Regions from separate parts of the Homo sapiens genome. Here all the other regions are linked to region 2. Evidence: promoter capture Hi-C in human tissues and cell types (Jung and others, 2019). All regions are on one chromosome and are shown on one strand. Each heading gives the region's core, a stretch centred on a gene start or on the middle of the fragment in contact. The rest is flanking DNA. Distances are from core to core; before and after follow the strand shown.

Region 1 (2,914 bases), core at 324-2,823, 1.8 Mb before region 2:
TAAAGCAGGCACACTTATCTAGGGAGGCTGGCATCAAGTTGGAGGTTAACCTGTGGAAGAGGGCAGCTGTGAGCACAACAGGGCCTGGTGATTCCTGCATGCTTCATTCTGTGTCTTTATTGGCATGCTGGTTATTTGAGTGTGTTTAGTTTGTGACAATTCATTGAGCTGACATTCTGTGCACCAGGCTATATGTATGTTATTGGGGAACGTTATCTGAAAAAAAAAAATGAAGCCTTTCTTCTATCCTCCCTCCTTCATCTTTTCAGTCTCTCTCTGTGTCTGTCTGTCTCTCTGTCTTTGTCTCTCTCTCTGCTTTTCTTTCTCTAAGAAGTCTCCAGTGGACTAATTTCTATTAATCCCAAGAAGCGACTGGATTGCCTTTTGTGGATTTGATTAACTCTGAATCCCGAAGGCACCTGTTCCTTCCTCTGCCACTTTTCAGAAATGGAACAAGAGAGTCTCCCCTTGCTCAGAGGGGTCCATAAAGACCATCATGGGGGGACCTTATCAGGGTGGCCCCCCACATCTGCATTTCGGCCTCTGATGTAGTCAGGTGCTTTCAAAGGGACACATTCATCTCCAGAAAATGTGATCACTTTACACCCTTAAAATAGAGCTTGAGTATTTTTTTAAATGATGTGGTTTCCTCTACAAGGTTGATTTCTGTATAAAAGACAAAATAAACTCAATAGGCAGTGTAGCACATCCTACTTTGTAACTGTTTCCAGCTCAGTGACAGATAAACAGAATAAGGTGAGGTTGTTACTTACAACCCAGCAAGCTTTTCAGGTTATGGTGATTTTTAAGTACTTGGAATCATTGATAATTTCTTTTTTGAGGGAGCAAAAATGCTTTAGGTATATGAATGCAGCCAACTAAACTGTATGCTCTGTGGAGACAGAAATCCTGGCTGCCTGATCATCACCACCTCCTGGATTCCTGGCATGCGGTAGGCATGTGAGACATACTCCAGGAAAGAATGAATGAATGGCTCCAGCAAACTGAAGCATGAACCAAAGATAGAGGGACTCGCCCTGTGCACAGGCTGTGGATTCCTCCGTGATTAGCGTGGATGGGCACATCTGACTTCACAAAGCACAAAACAATCATTTGTTAAATGTCCATCCTATGCTTAGTAAAATGTTAAGTGCTATGAGTAATACAACACTATGAGTGGCCATGAGTCCTACTGTCAAAGGCAGGCCCTAATGAATCAGCAAATAATAGAAGGAGCTCTCCAATGGCTCAGAACTTGTAGCAGGATGAGCTCTGGGTGGGAGCCACTGGGAAGACCTCCTGTGATGTCCCTGGCTTATGAGGCCACAGACACTTGCTTAGCTCTGTACCTGCAGGACCACAATTAATATTTAGGACTGCTCTGTGCAGTAGATAGTGCTGTGCCCGTTCTACAGATGAGGACGCTAATGAGACCACTGTGCTGCCATGATCTGAGATCAGCTGCCTGAGATCACAGTGCTGATCAGTGGCCCTCTAAATGCAGAGACACGATGCCATGTTGCCACTGAATGATGTGCTGGAAACGCTGGTCCTTGAATAAGGGCAGGACGCAGAGGGACAGGATACCCAGGCCGGACCGCACTAAGGGACCTGCCAGAGAATCGCCCTTATGAGCCAAGAAAATGGAATCTGAACCCTATTGTCTGCCTGTGCCTTCAATCACAAATGTGAGGACACAGCCTCTGCACAGAGTACAAGGTGCCCCAGGAAATGACTGGGGCAAAAACCCCCTGACATGGCTCCATCACTGTCTTTCACAGAAAGAATTAAGAGCCTTTAGTGACCTCGGTCAGAGCAACTGCCTTTGTGGGTGAGAGTGGATGAGGAGACTCAAGGTCGGAGCGGCCAGGGTAGGCCCTTCATTTCCTCCTGCCCAGCTACGGCAGCCCCGAGGTTTTTCCTTGGCTAACAGTGGAAGAAAAGCAGGATACAAAATGGATAAGTTAACAAAGCAAACACACACCATTATCTCCTTTCCATTCCCAGCCTACACATTGGGTGCTTAAATTGGGCTGTGTGCTTCCTCCCAAGGGAGGGAGAGTGGGCCTGGCCCAGAGGGGGACACACTGGAGCCCAAAACCATCTGCGGGGGTCACTCCAGGCAGGCGCACTGCAAGTGTCCTCCATCCGCGTCCCTATAGAGAGGCCTAACCCATCGCTGATTAGTTGTTTATTTAGTTACTGCTGTCTTGCTCCTAGCATGCTGCTATCCAAATGAATTTTCATTTAAACATGCAAGCAGCCGAAGATGGGATTTTAAAATGGAAATACTTTGGACTCTCTAACATGATTTGGTATAAAATGGAATTCGGTGGACAGCATGGCATCTGTCTCGGACTTGAGCCAAGGGCTTTAGTTATGGAATAATCAAAAGGAACTCATTCTAATGATATCTCATATTTGTATACGATTTTTACTGGGTGCAAATCTTTCTCACATATATTTCCACTGGATTCTCAAAACAGTCCTGGGAGGTAGGATGTCCATCCATGCTGCCAAGGAAGGGGCTCAGGCCCAGAGAAGGAAAGTGACTTTCTCAAGGTCACCCAGCGATCACACAAGAGAATCAAAAGTCAGCCTTGATAGTCTGATTGCAAACTTCACACCCACACTGCCACTTAAGGTAGTCTCTCCACTGCATGGTGGGCTTATAAAGTAAAACTCCGGTATAGAGAAGCCCCTGTGTCTATGGGCACCCCATGATTGCTGTGGGTCTCCTAAGCAGGTGAGTTTCTGAGATCGTTTGAGATAAGTTGTTTCTTCAGAGCTATTTCCCTTCCTCTTCCTCTTTCTCTTTTTCTGTTTTATTCAGGAGAACGCCAATTTGAAGTCTAGTGTACCAATGAGAGCACCTGGACGGAAGGCAACCAGTGTGTTAGTGACAAATGCAAAA
Region 2 (2,940 bases), core at 199-2,698:
ATAACTTCCCACTGCACAACATCCAGGTTATACTGAAGATATTACACATCTGGTTAAAAACAGTACACGTCTCTCATGAACAATAAGCCATCCTTTCTATTAAAATGAGTGTAAAATTGCAGGTAAAATGCTGTAGGCAGGCCTGTTTGGAAGGCTATGCGACCCTAGGAGACAAAAAGGTGCAGGAGGAGGAAAAGGGCAGACACCGCAGAAAGCGGTCGAAGAGAACGTGAAAGAAGTGGCCATTTCTAGCTGGGCGCGGTGGTTCACGCCTGTAATCCCAGCACTTTGGGAGGCTGAGGCGGGTGGATCATGAGGTCAGGAGATCGAGACCATCCTGGCTAACACGGTGAAACCCCGTCTCTACCAAAAAAAAAAAAAATACAAAAAATTAGCCGGGCGTGGTGGCGGGCGCCAGTAGTCCTAGCTACTCGGGAGGCTGAGGCAGGAGAATGGTGTGAACCCGGGAGGTGGAGCTTGCAGTGATCCGAGATTGCGCCACTGCACTCCAGCCTGGGCGACAGAGCGAGACTCCGTCTCAAAAAAAAAAAAAAAAAAAAAAAGAAGTGGCCATTTCTGCAACTTTTAGGAGAGCTACCTGCCCTCAAATTTTGAAAGGGTTTCTATTTCTTAAAGTGCTACGTTTCCCTGGCTGAAACTCACATCTTTCTTCCCTCTAGGGCTGGATCAAAGCTTCAGAGGTTGTTTCTCTGGCCCTAGACAGGGCCACCCCCGCAAATTTCTCCCCCACTGCGCCTGACATCCGCTTCCATCCATGGCTCCATTAACGGAAGCTAAGCACTGGCTCGGGGGACTTTATCCACCGCCCGGTGTTATTAGATTCCAGGCTTCCTGGCCTCAGGAAAGGATCTGGCTCGTGTATTTGTGTATCGCAGCTAACAAGGAAAGGCAGTCGGTACCAGTGCCCAGAGCTATGTGAGCTGTGACTGGTCACAGCCCAGGAGCCAGATGGCATCCCCGGGGGCGCGCGTCCCCGGACTCACCGGGCAGACGGAGGCCCGGGGCTTCACACCTTCCCCTCACCGGGCAACGCGGCAGACCTGACTCGCGGGGGACTGAGCAATATTCGTTCCAGGGCCGCGGCCAGCCGGACAGAGGCACTCGGGGGCGGTGGGAGTAGTGTGCGCACCGGTTCCGCAGCCCGGAGGGGGCCCCAGCTGGGCTTCCGCGACACCAGGGCCCTCCATCCCCTCCCGTCCTCCCCTAGCGCAGCCTTCACCCCTGTCCCAGAGCCCCTCCCTGTCCGCGTCCCCTCCCCCGCAGGTCCCCTGCGAGTCGGAACCTCCTCTCCATCACAGCCCCGCTCCTTGGCGGGGCCCCCTCTCCCTTCGAGCCCTCCTCCAGGTTCGAGCCCCCTGCGGGTACGGACGTCTGACCTGTGCCCAGCGCCTCGCAGCCGTCTGCAGCCCGCGCCGCGCGCCAAGTGCGTCCGCCCAGAAGCAGGTGCAGCTCCAGGCCCGCCCCGCCCCGCTGCGCCCCGCCCCGCTCCACTCCGCCAGGCCTGGCAGCCGCCAGCCCCTTTCCACCCTTGACCGCCCTTCCCGGTCCCGGCCAGCGTGCGGGGCATCTGTCGTCAGGTCCGCACTTCCTCCAGGCCTTTGACTTTCCCGTGGAGATGTCTCTGGCCTCAGGAACTCCCTAAGCTGTGTGCTTCAGGAGAGGCTGGTTCCTGAGTCACCCAAGAGGACTGCAACCAACCTGGACCTCCTGAGATGCAAAGAGATCGCAGGGCCTGGGAGGCGGCGAGGACCCTGAGAACAGGCTGTGGCTCCGAAGAGTGTTTGTTACCAAGCCAGGCAACCACTGCGAACACACCGCAGAAACAGCCACGGATCACCGTCCAGCAAAGGAAGAAGGTGCCAACGGTCCATCAGGGACCACAACCCAGTTTTTTTAGTTTAAGTTTGGTGGCTAAGTTTGAGTGTCACATAGTTCATTCATTCCTTCATTCATTCAACAAATCTGCCATGTTCCCATCTGATAACAGATCTGACAGGTGGGCACTGTTCTAGGTGCTGGCGATAGAGCTAAGAAGGAAACAAAGTTCCTGTCCCGGAGAAGGGGGCTACCTGCTGAGGAGAGCATGACTTTCTTTGTGGTATTGTGCTGTGGCAGCAGGGTCCTCTTCTGTAAGCTACTGAGAGGTGAAACCCGCTGGGCTTCTGGGTCGGATGGGGACTTGGAGAACTTTTCTGTCTAGCTAAAGGATTGTAAAAGCATCAATCTGCACTCTGTGTCTAGCTAAAGGTTTGTAAACACACCAATCAGCACTCTGTAAAAATGCACCAATCAGTGCTCTGTGTCCAGCTAATTGGTGGGGACTTGGAGAACTTTTCTCTCTAGCCAAAGGATTGTAAATGCACCAATCAATGCTCTATGTCTAGCTAAAGGTTTGTAAACACATCAATCAGCACTCTGTAAAAACGGACCAATCAGCACTCTGTAAAATGGACCAATCAGCACTCTGTAAAATGGACCAATCAGCGCTCTGTAAAATGGACCAATCAGGAGGATGTGGGCAGGACCAATCAGGAGGATGTGGGCGGGGCCAATGAGGGAATAAAAGCTGGCCATCCGAGCCAGCGGCAGCTGCGTTTGGGTCCCCTTCGATGGTGTTGGGGTTTTGTTGTTTCGCTCTTTGCAATAAATTTTGCTGTTGCTCACCTTTTAGGTCCACACTACCTTTATGAGCTTTAACACTCACAGTGAAGGTCTGCAGGTTCACTCCTGTAAACCAGCGAGACCAGGAAGCCACCACAAGAAACAACTCTGGAGCCGCCACCTTTAAGAGCCATAACACTCACTGTGAAGGTCTGTGGCTTCACTCCTGAAGTCAGCGACACCACGAACCCACAGGGAGGAGCAAACAACTCCAGACGCACCACTTTTAAGAGGTGTAACACTCCCTGCGAAGGTCTG
Region 3 (3,183 bases), core at 4-2,503, 1.8 Mb after region 2:
TCTATCATGACAAAAAATACACAGGAAAGACATGAACTAGCTTTTGAGTTTATGATAAAAAATTTAGGCTAAAAAGCTATTTAATGTTTGGAAAATGAAATTTCTAATAGAAATTTTATTAGCCAGGCTCTAATTTATTTCTGTTCTAAAAGATAACCATGGATTAAATGAAATAAGAGTCTCTGCTTTCCTAAGAACTTACATTACATGAAAACATTGCCTCAGTCTCAGTCCCTGCTAACAGTAATTTTCATAGTACTTCCCAATAATTTTTACATAGACTATTTTAGCCTTTAGAAAAATGCTCTAATAAAATAGCTGCAGCAATTTGCAGACAGGGAAGCTGAGAAGAAGAGGTTAAGTAAGTTACACAACCATGTGGAACAAACGGCCCACATTTTCCATCTCCAAATCAGGATATTTCCAAAACTCAACTTCACATCTGTGGTGTGTAGCACATTCCTAGCACGAATTATCATAATAAACAGAGGGAAATTCACTTTAAAACAATAAATTATTATGCTTGGATAATGGCAAACGATGGGTCATTACTCAATTAACAAATTTGTAAATTTGTGTCTTAAAATTGTTTGACTAGATTTTGGCTTGTGTGGTTGGCAAAGAGGTTGTGAAGTTCAGATTTCCTGCTGTGGAGAGCCTAATTTACTCACCACCCCATATGGACCTCCTACTGTGTTTCTTCCTGCTACTCTCAACCAATGACTGACTGCATTGGGTACTAGGGCAGGCTCAGTCCTGTGGGAGGTAGGACTTTTCATAGGTGTTAGCCTCTGAAGGCTCTCCCTACCTTCTCCTGATCCCTCCGTCAATAAATGTCTCACACATCTAATCTCAATTTGGAATCTGCTTCTTAGTGAACCTGAACTAATGAAATTTGTATCATTGCCCTTCCTCATGTTCCCCTTTTCAATTAATTAATGTGTCCATTCTCCATGTCTACATGGATTTTCTCCTTTCTATGTGGAATCTCCAAAATGTAAGTGCAGATCCATATAGCTAGATCTGATAACTAACTGGTTGGGAATGAAATATAAATGCAGACTTTCCCAAGCTTGTTTAAATCTTCCAGAGCCTATTAATGTAAAATCAAAAGTCAGGGAGATATGTGGTCAAATTGGGATAAAGAAGGGCATAGTGAATCTCCTCTGCAGGTTTGTAGTCCACTTTCACCTTTTAAAGAGTGAGAAAACCTATCATTGAACAAAATAGAAAGTTTAATTTTGTTTCTCTATTTAAGTTTATCTGTTTACACCATATTTATTTATTATTTTCTCAAGAAAGGAATATTTTCCCCCAGGAGAATATTCCTCTCCACCACTTCTGTTTCTAAGAGTTCTAACCATCTTCAGCTGCAATATGCGTCACTTATAATCTCCCTCTAACTTTGTGTGACTGTGGAGCTTAAAGTTGGAAAGCATCTCCTCAGAGAGAAAGACTATTGGTGAACTATTTTTTTTTTTTACTATTCACAATAAAATTACAACTTACAGACTGCAAATTGAATAGTATCATAATACATGTTATTTTTCCAAAAATTGACATACCATAACTTAGTGGGTTTGTATTTGTGTGTGTAGGATGTGCTTAGTATTACATGCTGTGTTTTACTGCAAATCTCTGTTATGGATCATTAGCTGAAACTTATGTTCATCCATAAAAAAATTAGGTCCCACAAAGGTGAATTTTACCCAAAACATTTTCTCCTCCTTCTAAATTAAAATCATCAAAAGATAATAATAACCAAGACAAAGACTAATTCTGAATAGAATTTTATCACACCCTATTTTACAGAGAAGGGAAGAGATACACAGGGAGTTTACATAACTTGTCAAATGTCACTTGGCTAAATCGGTAGGTTAAATAGGGATATGAACCCAGCTGGTTTCATTCTTAACCACTCCAGATTATTACCTCTCAAAGTCTTGGGAATTAGTTCAGCAACAGTATTTTAAGCAATAAGATTGGCAGTTAGAAGGCAAGGGAGCTTCAGTTTTAAAATTCTGACTGAAAAGACTCTTAGCATCAAATTTTATACCCAGATACACTATCAGATGTGATGATAAAATATTTCTGATATATTGGAGCTGAAAAACTAACTTATTACCACCTTATTTCAGGATGATATTATAATATGTTTTTGAACAAAAAATTAAAGAAAAAAGAGATCAAGAGGAAAATTTTACATCTAGCAAAAAGAATAACTAATGTAAGTGAGCATCAAAAGAAATATTCAGGTTTATACCTGGAAAGAAGACCTTCACAGAAAATAGTACAAATTAGAACAGAGGGCAAATCTGAGTATATGAAAAATAATGCTTTTGGGCCTATGGCAGAGATTAGAATTCTTGAAAAAATATCAGTTACTTTATGGAAAACTAGGTAAATGAAAAATTGAGGAAATAACTCCAAAAAGAAGAGCAACAACAGCATCAGAGGGCTTATAGGAAAGATGGAAGTAGAATAGTGAACAATATTTGGATACTCATAAGAATGTGAACTATCGATTTTACTAAAAGCTGTGATATAACTATGTTAGGAAGCTGGGAGTAGGTGAATCTGGGATGGTAGTGGGTGTAGAAAAGCTAATCCTCATCTCCAATTGTAGGTTATAAGTATATAATGTGTAAAACTTAGATAGATTGATATACACACACATAGAGACACATGAAATATATACATATATATATATGTCTGTGTGTGTGTATGTGTGTGTGTGTATCCATTCTCTTAGATGGGTGAGATCCAATTTGATCTTCCTATTTGTGGTTTCATTGACATTCCTTCCTTTTGCTAGGCATATATATATATACACACACACATACACACACATATACATATACGTAAATATAACAGATATATATATATAAGTCTAGCAAAATAAACATACTATTTAGACATATGAAAGCTAAGATCATGTGAAATAACCAGAAAAATTAAGAAGAGTTACCTGTGGAATAAAATGCCTGAGGAATGGGATGGGGTGGAACAGGATACTCTTTCACTTTAAGACTTTTAGAATTATTTGACTTTAGAAATCATTTACAGTTGTTACTGATATAACATTAAAACTATTTAGAAATTAAAAATTAAAAAACATTTTTACTATGTCTTTCCCTATTTATCAAGGGGGAGTTTGGAGCAGGAACAGAACTTGGGGGAAAA

What was found. Contacts are between HindIII fragments. The study calls those that stand out against the background at their distance.
Region 1: a contact is called between a fragment that was not itself captured here and the fragment with the promoter of TMEM45B in region 2, in 1 of the 25 tissues and cell types used here (aorta).
Region 3: a contact is called between a fragment that was not itself captured here and the fragment with the promoter of TMEM45B in region 2, in 1 of the 25 tissues and cell types used here (stomach).

Annotation. Positions count from the first base shown.
Region 1 is chr11:131,622,877-131,625,790 of GRCh38, reverse strand. The region is part of intron 1 of NTM (neurotrimin); the gene reads right to left. Among named protein-coding and RNA genes, the nearest start is that of NTM-AS1, 39 kb to the left of the region's middle. The HindIII fragment of the contact is 6,012 bases long and covers 1-2,914 here.
Region 2 is chr11:129,814,356-129,817,295 of GRCh38, reverse strand. TMEM45B (transmembrane protein 45B) reads right to left here and starts at 1,448. Exons shown (of 6, transcript NM_138788.5): 1 at 1,398-1,448. It overlaps LOC124902793 (a long non-coding RNA gene), which reads left to right and starts at 2,609. Exons shown (of 2, transcript XR_007062952.1): 1 at 2,609-2,940. The HindIII fragment of the contact is 7,942 bases long and covers 1-2,940 here.
Region 3 is chr11:128,042,812-128,045,994 of GRCh38, reverse strand. No RefSeq gene overlaps it. Among named protein-coding and RNA genes, the nearest start is that of LINC02725, 51 kb to the left of the region's middle. The HindIII fragment of the contact is 4,935 bases long and covers 1-3,183 here.